Regions from separate parts of the Homo sapiens genome. Here region 2 is linked to region 1. Evidence: promoter capture Hi-C in human tissues and cell types (Jung and others, 2019). All regions are on one chromosome and are shown on one strand. Each heading gives the region's core, a stretch centred on a gene start or on the middle of the fragment in contact. The rest is flanking DNA. Distances are from core to core; before and after follow the strand shown. Region 1 holds the start of TRIM61 (tripartite motif containing 61). Region 2 has its middle 33 kb from the start of FAM218A.

Evidence for each region. The method cuts DNA at HindIII sites, captures the fragments that hold promoters and counts their contacts. A contact is called where the count stands out against the background at its distance.
Region 2: a contact is called between a fragment that was not itself captured here and the fragment with the promoter of TRIM61 in region 1, in 2 of the 25 tissues and cell types used here (adrenal gland and lymphoblastoid cells).

What each region holds. Positions count from the first base shown.
Region 1 is chr4:164,974,523-164,979,580 of GRCh38, forward strand. It overlaps TRIM61 (tripartite motif containing 61), which reads right to left and starts at 3,135. Exons shown (of 3, transcript NM_001414904.1): 1 at 3,009-3,135; 2 at 2,166-2,303. RefSeq lists enhancers at 3,244-3,323, 3,354-3,413. The HindIII fragment of the contact is 6,036 bases long and covers 2,629-5,058 here.
Region 2 is chr4:164,921,228-164,926,285 of GRCh38, forward strand. No RefSeq gene overlaps it. Among named protein-coding and RNA genes, the nearest start is that of FAM218A, 33 kb to the right of the region's middle. The HindIII fragment of the contact is 7,148 bases long and covers 1-5,058 here.

The DNA of each region.
Region 1 (5,058 bases), core at 1,885-4,384:
TGTATATCCAGGGATGAGAGTACATTTAACTTGTGAAAAATTCTAACACAACACTACAGAAAACATAGAATAATGGCCGGGAGTCGTGGCTTCAGGGCTGTAATCCCAGAACTTTGGGAGGCCAAGCTGGGTGGATCGCTTGAGCCCAAGAGTTCAAGACCAGCCTGAGCAACATGGCAAAATCCCATCTCTACAAAAGGAAAAGAAAGAAAAGAAATAAAAAGAATACTGTCTCTTACAAACCACTCTTCCCACCTGCCCACACTAAGCGTGGCTATGGTGACTCCCAATACTTGCTTAATACTTTCAAATGGGTACTGTTGAGCAGAACAAGAAAGTTAGAAAGTGCATGGGAATGGGAGTGAGGTTGCATAGGGTGCTCAGAGATTGGAAAAATTGAGCCTGAAAAAGTTTTAAGAATCTTGCCCAGCCACGCACGGTGGCTCACACTTGTAATCCCAGCACTTTGGGAGGCCAAGGCAGGCAGATTACCTTAGGTCAAGTGTTCGAGACCAGCCTGGACAACATGGTGAAACCCTGTCTCTACTAAAAATGCAAAAATTAGCCGGGCATGGTGGCGCGCCTGTAGTCCCAGCTACTTGGGAAGCTAAGGCAGGAGAATGGCTCAAACCAGGGGGCAGAGGTTGCAGTGAGCTGAGATGGCGCCATTGCACTCCAGCCTGGGTGAAAAGAGGAAAACTCCATCTTAAAAAAAAAAAAAAGAATCTTGCCCAATGTCACATAGTTAGTAAACTGCAGAGCATCATTGCAAAAAATGGTAAAATCAGAAGAAAAAATGTACTTTTAAGAAAACATATACAAAAAAGGACTCTAGCACAGTGCAAAGTGCAGGGAAAAGAAAGAGATCAGACTGTCACTGTGTGTCTATGCAGAAAGGGAAGACGTAAGAGACTCTATTTTGAAAAAGACCTGTACTTTAAACAATTGCTTTGCTGAGATGTTGTTAATTTGTAGCTTTGCCCCAGCCACTTTGACTCAACCTGGAGCTCACAAAAACATGTGTTGTATAAAATCAAGGTTTAAGGGATCTAGGGCTGTGCAGGACGTGCCTTGTTAACAAAATGTTTACAAGCAGTATGCTTGGTAAAAGTCATCGCCATTCTCTAGTCTCAATAAACCAGGGGCACAATGCACTGCGGAAAGCCACAGGGACCTCTGCCCTTGAAAGCGGGGTATTGTCCAAGGTTTCTCCCCATGTGATAGTCTGAAATATGGCCTCGTGGGATGAGAAAGACCTGACTGTCCCCAGCCTGACACCCGTAAAGGGTCTGTGCTGAGGTGAATTAGTAAAAGAGGAAAGCCTCTTGCAGTTGAGATGGAGGAAGGCCACGGTCTGCTGCCTGCCCCTGGGAACTGAATGTCTTGGTATAAAACCTGATTGTACCTTTGTTCAATTCTGAAATAGGAGAAAAACCGCCCTATGGTGGGAGGCGAGACATGTTTGCAGTAATGCTGACTTGTTATTCTTTACTCCGCTGAGATGTTTGGGTGGAGAGAAACATAAATCTGGCTTACGTGCACGTCCAGTCATAGTACTTTCCCTTGAACTTAATTATGACATAGATTCTATTGCTCACATGTTTGTTGCTGACCTTCTCCTTATTATAACCCTGCTCTCCTACTACATTCCTTTTTGCTGAAATAATGAAAATAATAATCAATAAAAACTGAGGGAACTCAGAGGCCGGTGCCGGTGCAGGTCCTTGGTATGCTGAGCGCCGGTCCCCTGGGCCCACTGTTGTTTCTCTATACTTTGTCTCTGTCTTATTTCTTTTCTCAGTCTCTCGTCCCACCCGACTAGAAATACCCACAGGTGTGGAGGGGCAGGCCACCCCTTCATAAAGGACACAAGAGGACTCACTCCAGGTATCATTGTGCCCTCCTTTCCCCAAGCATACACCCAAAGCAGTCTTCTCTACTATTTAAAATCAGGACATTAAGTGAACAGAACAGCTCTGTAGGCACAGTCACCACCCTAGTTTAAACCACTTATGTCTCTCTCCTAGATACACAATGGTGCCTCCAATTTCTGAAGTCTGTAGCTAAACTGACCTTTTCAAATACAAACAGAATCCTTTCATATTTCAACTGAAAACATTCCACTGGTCCTTTATTACTTTATGGAAGCAATTCTCAAATCTTACCTTGCATTATAATCACCTGGAGGTCTTGGTAAAAGATTGCCTGGGCCACATCCCCAGTTTCTGACTCAGTAGGGCTGGTTTTTTCCTAAGTTCCCAGATGATGCTGCTGGCCTGCGGACTGTACTTTGTGAACCTATGCTTTAAGGAAAACAAAGCAAAAAGATCCATTAAGATCTAGTCCAAGTTTTTTGCCTAGCTCCCATCATGTCACATATCACAGTTATGTGATTTTACAGCTACTCTGCAATTCTTTACCTAACTGTAAAAACCCCTCACCAGGCAGCAAGCTTCTTGGTGGCAATACGTCTCTAGCTTGTTTGAGGAATAAATAAAACCTGTGGTAGATTCCAAGCTCTCAGTTTCAACCATCATCATACTGGCTGATTCTTAACATGCCTGCACCTAAAGCGCCTCATCTACAAAGTTGAAATGATAATTCGTACCTGTAAGACCCTTGTGAGGATTACAGGATGCTTACATAGGTCGAGGGTGCAGACGACGTAGGCTGGTGGGTTCTCAACTGGCAGCTACCACTTCGCTCCCTTAACTCCCCAACCCCCACTCCCAAACACGTACATTAACTCTTTGAAGATAACATAGCCACTTCATAAACCCTAATTCAGATCATAACATTTAAAGCTTAATTGATACAGGCTCAACACCCCCATTCTAACTCTACAATCCTGAATTTTTCACAAGAGCTACGCCAGACACTAAGGAGATCCAGTCGTGGGCAGGCAGCGACCCGGAGGTTTAGGCACAGAGAATGTTCAAGAAGCCCCTGTCCAGTTAAGCCTCCTGGCGAGGCCCTTCTGGGCCTTTCCTGCGGCCTTCCCAGCTCACCTGGAGCAGACGGATCAGCAAATCCGGCCAAAGAATACTCAGGACCCACCGAGCCCCCGCGAGGAAGGACTCATACCCCAACCCCACCAAGTGGGCTGCTTCCTGCCTGGGGCTCAGCCTGCGCGGTGGTTGGCAGTTGCCCCGGAAGTGGGCGGGAAGGACCTGCGCATGCTCTGTGACCCTGGGTGCAGGGATTGTGTGAAGATTGAGAGCTGGGGGCGCCCTCTTCCGTGATCAGGGCCCCGTTGGCCCCAACTGGCATTTAATTCCCCTGGCTGTCTTTTCGGATTCTTATCACTTTTTATGTATATGAGTAAACTTGAGGGTCCAAGTAAGTCTGCAAGTTGGTTTTAAAAGCTTCACCAGCACAGCGTCCCCTCCCAGATGGTGAGGGAGTGGAGAGCTTTGCAGGGTCAACTGCTTCCCGTAGCCTGGGGTCGCAGGGTGGAGTCGTTGAGCACTCCCTATGCTTGAAAGAGGAATAGAAGCCCCTTTGGATTAGTTTGCATCTCAGTGGGTGAGTGGGTGGATCTCTCCCACCCTGTGGGATTGTGCCCTACCCTATGAACTCAGGTTTACCTGAGGAAGTGACATTTCAGGCGGAATTTGAGGGATGAAGAGGCATTCGTTGGATCAATTCCACGGTCAAAGTCTTCAAGGCTGGAAGAAGAGCCAATGTGGAGCCTCTCAACTTTAAAGAATTTAGTACAGGCCGGGCATAGTGGCTCACACCTGTAATCCAAGCACTTTCAGAGGCAGAGGTGGGAGGATCGCTTGAGGCCAGGAGTTCAGGACAAGCCTAGGTAACATTGCCAGACCCTGCGTCTACAAAATATTTTAGAAATGATTTTTTTTTCTTTTAATAAGAGACGGAATCTCTCTTTCGCCCAGGCTGGAGTGCAGTGGCGCGATCTTGGCTCTCTGCAACCTCTGCCTCCCAGTTTCAAGCAATTCTCCTGCCTCTGTCTCCCGAGTAGCTGGGTCTATAGGCGCACGCCGCCACGCCTGGCTAATTTTTTGTTGTTGTATTTTTAGTAGAGACGGGGTTTCATCGTGTTGCCCAGGCTGGATTCGAACTCCTGAGATCAGGCAATCCGCCCGCCTCGGCCTCCCAAAAGTGCCAGGATTACAGGCGTGAGCCACCTCACCCAGCCAGAAATGATAATTTTATTTTTATTTTTATTTTTTTTTTGAGACGGAGTCTCGCTCTGTGGCCCAGGCTGGAGTGCAGTTGCGTGATCTCGGCTCACTGCAAGCTCCGCCTCCCGGGTTCACGCCATTCTCCTGCCTCAGCCTCCAGAGTAGCTGGGACTACAGGTGCCTGCCACCACGCCCAGCTAATTTTTTGTATTTTTAGTGGAGACGGGGTTTCACCGTGTTAGCCAGGATGGTGTCGATTTCCTGACCTCGTGATCCGCCCGCCTCGGCCTCCCAAAGTGCTAGGAGTACAGGCGTGAGCCACCGCGCCCTGCCTAGAGATGATAATTTTTAAAAACTTGGTACAAAAGGAACTGAAAGAGGTCATTTGGTTGGCACTACAACGTGGGAAATTGCAAGAAGTATAAAATATGGAAAATGGCTTTGTGAGGCTGATGAGATAGGCGAGAATGAATGCTGCAAGGCCCTTTAGGCAAAATTGAGGATATTGGTTTTTATCAAATGCAAAGAAAAGCCAGTGAAGCATTTTAAACATGAAGTACTAAGATTTGAATTGTGGAATAAAGACCCGTCGATGCCTTTAATATATCCTAGAAAGGGTGTATGGTGGACAGTTGAATAGAGGTGTGACCTAGACAAATCAACCGATAAAGCAAAGTCCTTGTTCGTAAACCTTTTGAAATTCCAGAGTCTCCTGAAAAAGAAAGGAAAAGAAATACCAGTGGCAGCAGCTTCCCCCATATTACTTTGCAGTGAGGTGAGTGCATGGTATTTATTTGTTATTTTCGCCCAGGCTGGAGTACAATGGCGCCATTTTGGCTCACTGCAAGCTCCGCCTCGCGGGTTCAGCCTCCCTGGTTCAAACAGTTCTCCTGCCTCAGCCTACAGAGTA
Region 2 (5,058 bases), core at 1,074-3,573, 54 kb before region 1:
CTCTAATCTGCAACACAGGCACATTTGTTCACTAAGCCAGCTGCTCAGGTATCTTGGAGATATTCTTAGCATCTCTTGAATTGTTTTACCTGTTTTTATGTTTTTCCATTTGGAAGTTGGTTTCTTGTTTAATTGGAGCACATCCTTCAGTAGCTTTCTAGTAAGGTTCATGGGAAATAAAGTTTTTGATACCTTTTGATACCTTTGTATCTGAAAATGTCTTTTTTTTTTTTTTTTTTTTTTGAGACAGAGTCTTGCTCTGTCGCCCAGGCTCGAGTGCAGTGGCGTGATCTTGGCTCACTGCAAGCTCTGGCTCCCAGGTTCACGCCATTCTCCTGCCTCAGCCTCCCGAGTAGCTGGGACTACAGGTGCCCACCACCACACCTGGCTAATTTTTTTGTATTTTCAGTAGAGTCAGGGTTTCATCATGTTAGCCAGGATGGTCTCGATCTCCTGACCTTGTGATCCACCCGCCTCAGCTTCCCAAAGTGCTGGGATTACAGGCATGAGCCACCACACCTGACCTCTGAAAATGTCTTTAGTCTATCCTGATATTTAATCAGAAGTTTTTCAGGGTCTGAAATTATAGTTTTGAAACAATTTACTCTTACGTATTTTAATCTTTTAAATTGAGAAATATATAGTTATGATATCTACAATGTATTATGAAATACATTAACATAAACAAATGTTCTATAAGCATGACATTTAGTCAGCTACACAAATTTGGTCAGGAACTCGTACCCAAGGTCAGCTGGCATTATAATGGATAAATTTAAGCTCCAAGTACTATTGTAATGCTTCAGTTATTTTTATTTTTTTGAGATGGAGTCTAGCTCTGTCGCCCAGGCTGGAGTGCAGTGGCGTGATCTCTGCTAACTGCAGCCTCTGCCTCCTGGGTTCAAGCAATTCTCGCACCTCAGCCTCCCAAGTAGCTGGAATTACAGACGCATGCCACCACACATGGTCAACTTTTGTATTTTTTAGTAGAGACAGGGTTTCACCATGTTGGTCAGGCTGGTCTTGAACTCCTGACCTCAAGTGATCCACCTGCCTCAGCCTCCAAATTGCTGGAATTATAGCCGTGAGCCACCACACCTGGCCAGTTATCTTAATCTTACACCAATCCAGAGAAAATTACACATCTCGTTAAATTACAATAATGAATTATAGTAGACATCAAAAATAGGATGACATTGGGGTGAAATGTGCTATTAGAGATACATGGATTGACTGAAATATTTGAGGATCTGTAAATACAGTGGCTTCCTTGGACAAGAAAACAATCATAGTTTAAAGACAGAATCGTTCTTGTAAGTGATAAGAGTTTCATAAACGAAAAATATAATTGTGTATTTCCAGCATCCCTACTCTGCACTCCGCTTGCCAGTTTCTGGCTACTTAATATTCCACTACCAACCTTATGCCCCAAGAAATCATCACTATAATATTCTTTTCCCCATTTCCCCTACATAATCAGCCTTCTTCCTAATTGTTCTATCCCTTACTCATTGCCGAAACTAAGGCACTGAGATACTGAAAAGAGCATGCATTTGAAATCCCATACTAGGTTGGACAGTTTGTGGCAGTTATCAATATATTGCCTCTAACTTTATCTTTTCAAAGAATCAGCTTTGGTTTTGTTGATTTTCTGTCTTGTTTCCAATTTCAATTTTATTGATTTCTGCTCTAATTTTTATTTTTGTCCTTCTGCATGCTTTACATTGAAAAGCTTTACATTTGCTTTTGTTCTGTCTAGTTTCTTAAGGTAAAGGGTTAAGTTGCTGATTTTAGATCTTCTTTTCTAATATGTTATAAATTTAATGCTATAAATTTCCCTGTAAATACTGCTTTAGCTATGTTACACCAACATTGAAATATTGTATTTGTATTTGTATTTGTATTTTGCTCCAAATATTTAATTTTCCTGAGACTTACTCTTTGACCTAAGGGGTATTTAGAAGGGTACTAATTTTCACATGTTTGTGGATTTCTCAGAGATTTTTCTACAATATCAACTTTAATTTTGTATTATTTCTATTCTTTAAATGTGTGAAGGTATGTTTCATAGCCTATGATGTGGTTTATCTTGGTGAGTGACTCAGAAACTTGAAAAGAAGGCTGATTTTGACTTCTCTGTTTTTTGTTTTTATTGGAGACAAGATCTTAACTAATGTTGCCCAGGTTGGATTCAAAACTCCTGGCCCCAAGTGATCCGCCCACCTTGGACTTCAAAAGTGCTAGGATTAAGACAGGGTCTGGCTATATTGTCCAGGCTAGCATTCAATAGCTATTCACAGGCACAATCATAGCCCACTGCATCCCCAAACTCCTGGGCTCAGGAGATCCTCCTGCCTCAGCCTCCAGGACAGCTGGGACCACAGGTGCACATCACCATGCCTTGCTTCTCTGGGTTTCATCAAGCATGTTTTATGATTACATTTTAATCTCTTCTATTAACTTTTTATTTTATTTATTTATTTTTTGAGACAGAGTCTCACTGTGTCACCAGGCTGGAGTGCAGTAGCACAATATCGACTCATTGCAACTTCCGCCTCCCGAGTTCAAGCGATTCTCCTGCCTCAGCCTCCTGAGTAGCTGGGACTACAGGCACATGCCACCATGCCCGGCTAATTTTTTTTTTTTTTTTTTTTTTTTTGAGTTGGAGTCTCGCTCTGTCACCAGGCTGGAGTGCAGTGGTGCAATCTCGGCTCGCTGCAACCTCCACCTCCCAGGTTCAAACGATTCTCCTGCCTCAGCCTCCCAAGTAGCTGGGACTACAGGCGCATGCCACCATGCCCAGCTAATTTTTGTATTTTTAGTAGAGACGAGGTTTCACCATGTTGGCCAGGATGGTCTTGATCTCTTGACCTCATGATCTGTCTGCCTCGGCTGCCCAAAGTGCTGGGATTACAGGCATGAGTCACCACATCCAGCCTAATTTTTGTACTTTTAATAGAAACTGGGTTTCACCATGTTGGCCAGGATGATCTCGCTCTTGACCTCGTCATCCACCCACCTCAGCCTCCCAAAGTGCTGGGATTATAGGCATGAGCCACCGTGCCTGGCCTTATTGTATACATCTTTTAAAAACATTTTTTAGTGGTTCTCCCAGGGGTTTACAGTATACATTTTAAAAAAATTTGAGGCCTCCTTTAAATGAAATTATACTGTTTCCTTTTCAGTATAAGAACCTTGTAATAGTGTATTCCCAATTCTCACTGATTCTTTGTGGTCTTGTATTCATACAATACTTTTACATATGCTGGAAAAACACTTATTATTGTTTTAAACAGCTAGTTATCTTTTAGAGCAATTACCTTTATTTTATGCACTTTATTTCTTTGTGTAAACACAAGTTTCTGACATCTATAATATTCCTTTGGCCTGAAGTACTTTAACATTCCTCTTAGTGTCTGCTTGATGGCAACAAATTCCCTCCATTTTATTTTTCTAAGTATTTCTCCATTGCTTTTGAGAAATGTGCTAATCGGTTATAGAATTGTGAGTTGGCAAGATTTTTTTTATTTACAGAAGTAACTATTGTGTCCTGGATTTCACATTTTCTGATGAGAGGTCTGTTGTAATTCTTATCCTCCTTCCTTTGTCAGTGGTCATGCACTGCATAACAGTGTTTCAACCACTGACCACATACATGACAGTGGTCCTATAAGATTATAAACCTGCATTTTTATGGAAATTTTCTGTGGTTACGTATACCTAGATACAAAAATAGTTGCCTTTGTGTTACAATTTCTATAGTATTCAGCACAGTAACTTGCTGTACAGGTTTACTAGCCTAGGAGCATTCGGCTGTACCATATAGCTTACAGGCATAATAAGCTACAAAATTACTATCTAGGTTTGTGTACACATACTCTATGATGTTCACAGAATGATGAAATCATCCCATGATGTACTTCTCAGAACATATTCCCATAGTTAATGTATGCAAGGCAGTAATGTAGTTTTTTACTTGGGCTGCCTTCAAAATTGTGTTTTTGATTTTAATTTTCAGCAGTTTGAATTTGATTGATATATTGATATGTTTGGAGATATGTTGTCATTTTTTTCTTGTTTTGGTTTGTGTGTTTTGATAGTCATCATGCTTGGTATGCTCTGGGCTTCTTGGTTCTGGAGTTTTAGTGTCTGTAACTAAATTCTTGGCCATGATTTTTTTGAATATCTCCTCGGTTTTTCTTTTTAAATTTTTATTTATTTTTGCCTTCATTTCCTAGTGATGAGATTTCTTCTTTCTGAGATTCCAAGTATCCATAAATGACACTGTTTGATACTGTCCCACAGTTCTTAGTTTTTGTTTTTTGTTCTTTTCACTTTATATTTCAGTTTGGGTAGTTTGTTTATCTATCTTCAAGTTCACTGATTATTTCCCTCAGTGTGTTGAGGGTACTAATGAGCCCATTGAAGGCATCTTCAACTCTTTTCTGTGGTTTTCATTGCTAGCATTTCCATTTGATTTTTTTTTTTTTTTTTTTTGAGACAGAGTCTCACTTGCTCACCGAGGCTGGAATGCAGTGGCACGATCTCAGCTCACTGCAACCTCCACCTCTCGGGTTCAAGTAATTCTCCTCCCTCAGCCTCCAGAGTAGCTGGGATTACAGGCACCCGCCACCACACCGGGCAAATTTTTTTTTGTATTTTTAGTACAGACAGGGTTTCACCATGTTGGTCAGCCTAGTTTGGAACTCCTGACCTCAAGTGATCTGCCTGCCTCAGCCTCCCAAAGTGCTAGGATTACAGGCGTGAGCCACCGTGCCCAGCTTTTCCATTTGATTTTATAGTTTCCAACTCTGATAAAATTATCTATCTGATCCCGCATGTTGTCTTTATTTTCCACTAAAGCCTTTAACATATCAATTACAATTATTTTCATTTTTTTGCATGAGAGTTCCTACATGTGTGTCATAGCTTAGTATGGTTCCGATGTTCATTTTGTCTCTTCAGAGTGTGGTTTATTTTCCTTTTACATTTTTTTTTGTATGCCTTGTTTTTTTTTGTTTTTGGTAAAAACCAGACATATATAGAAAAATACATACT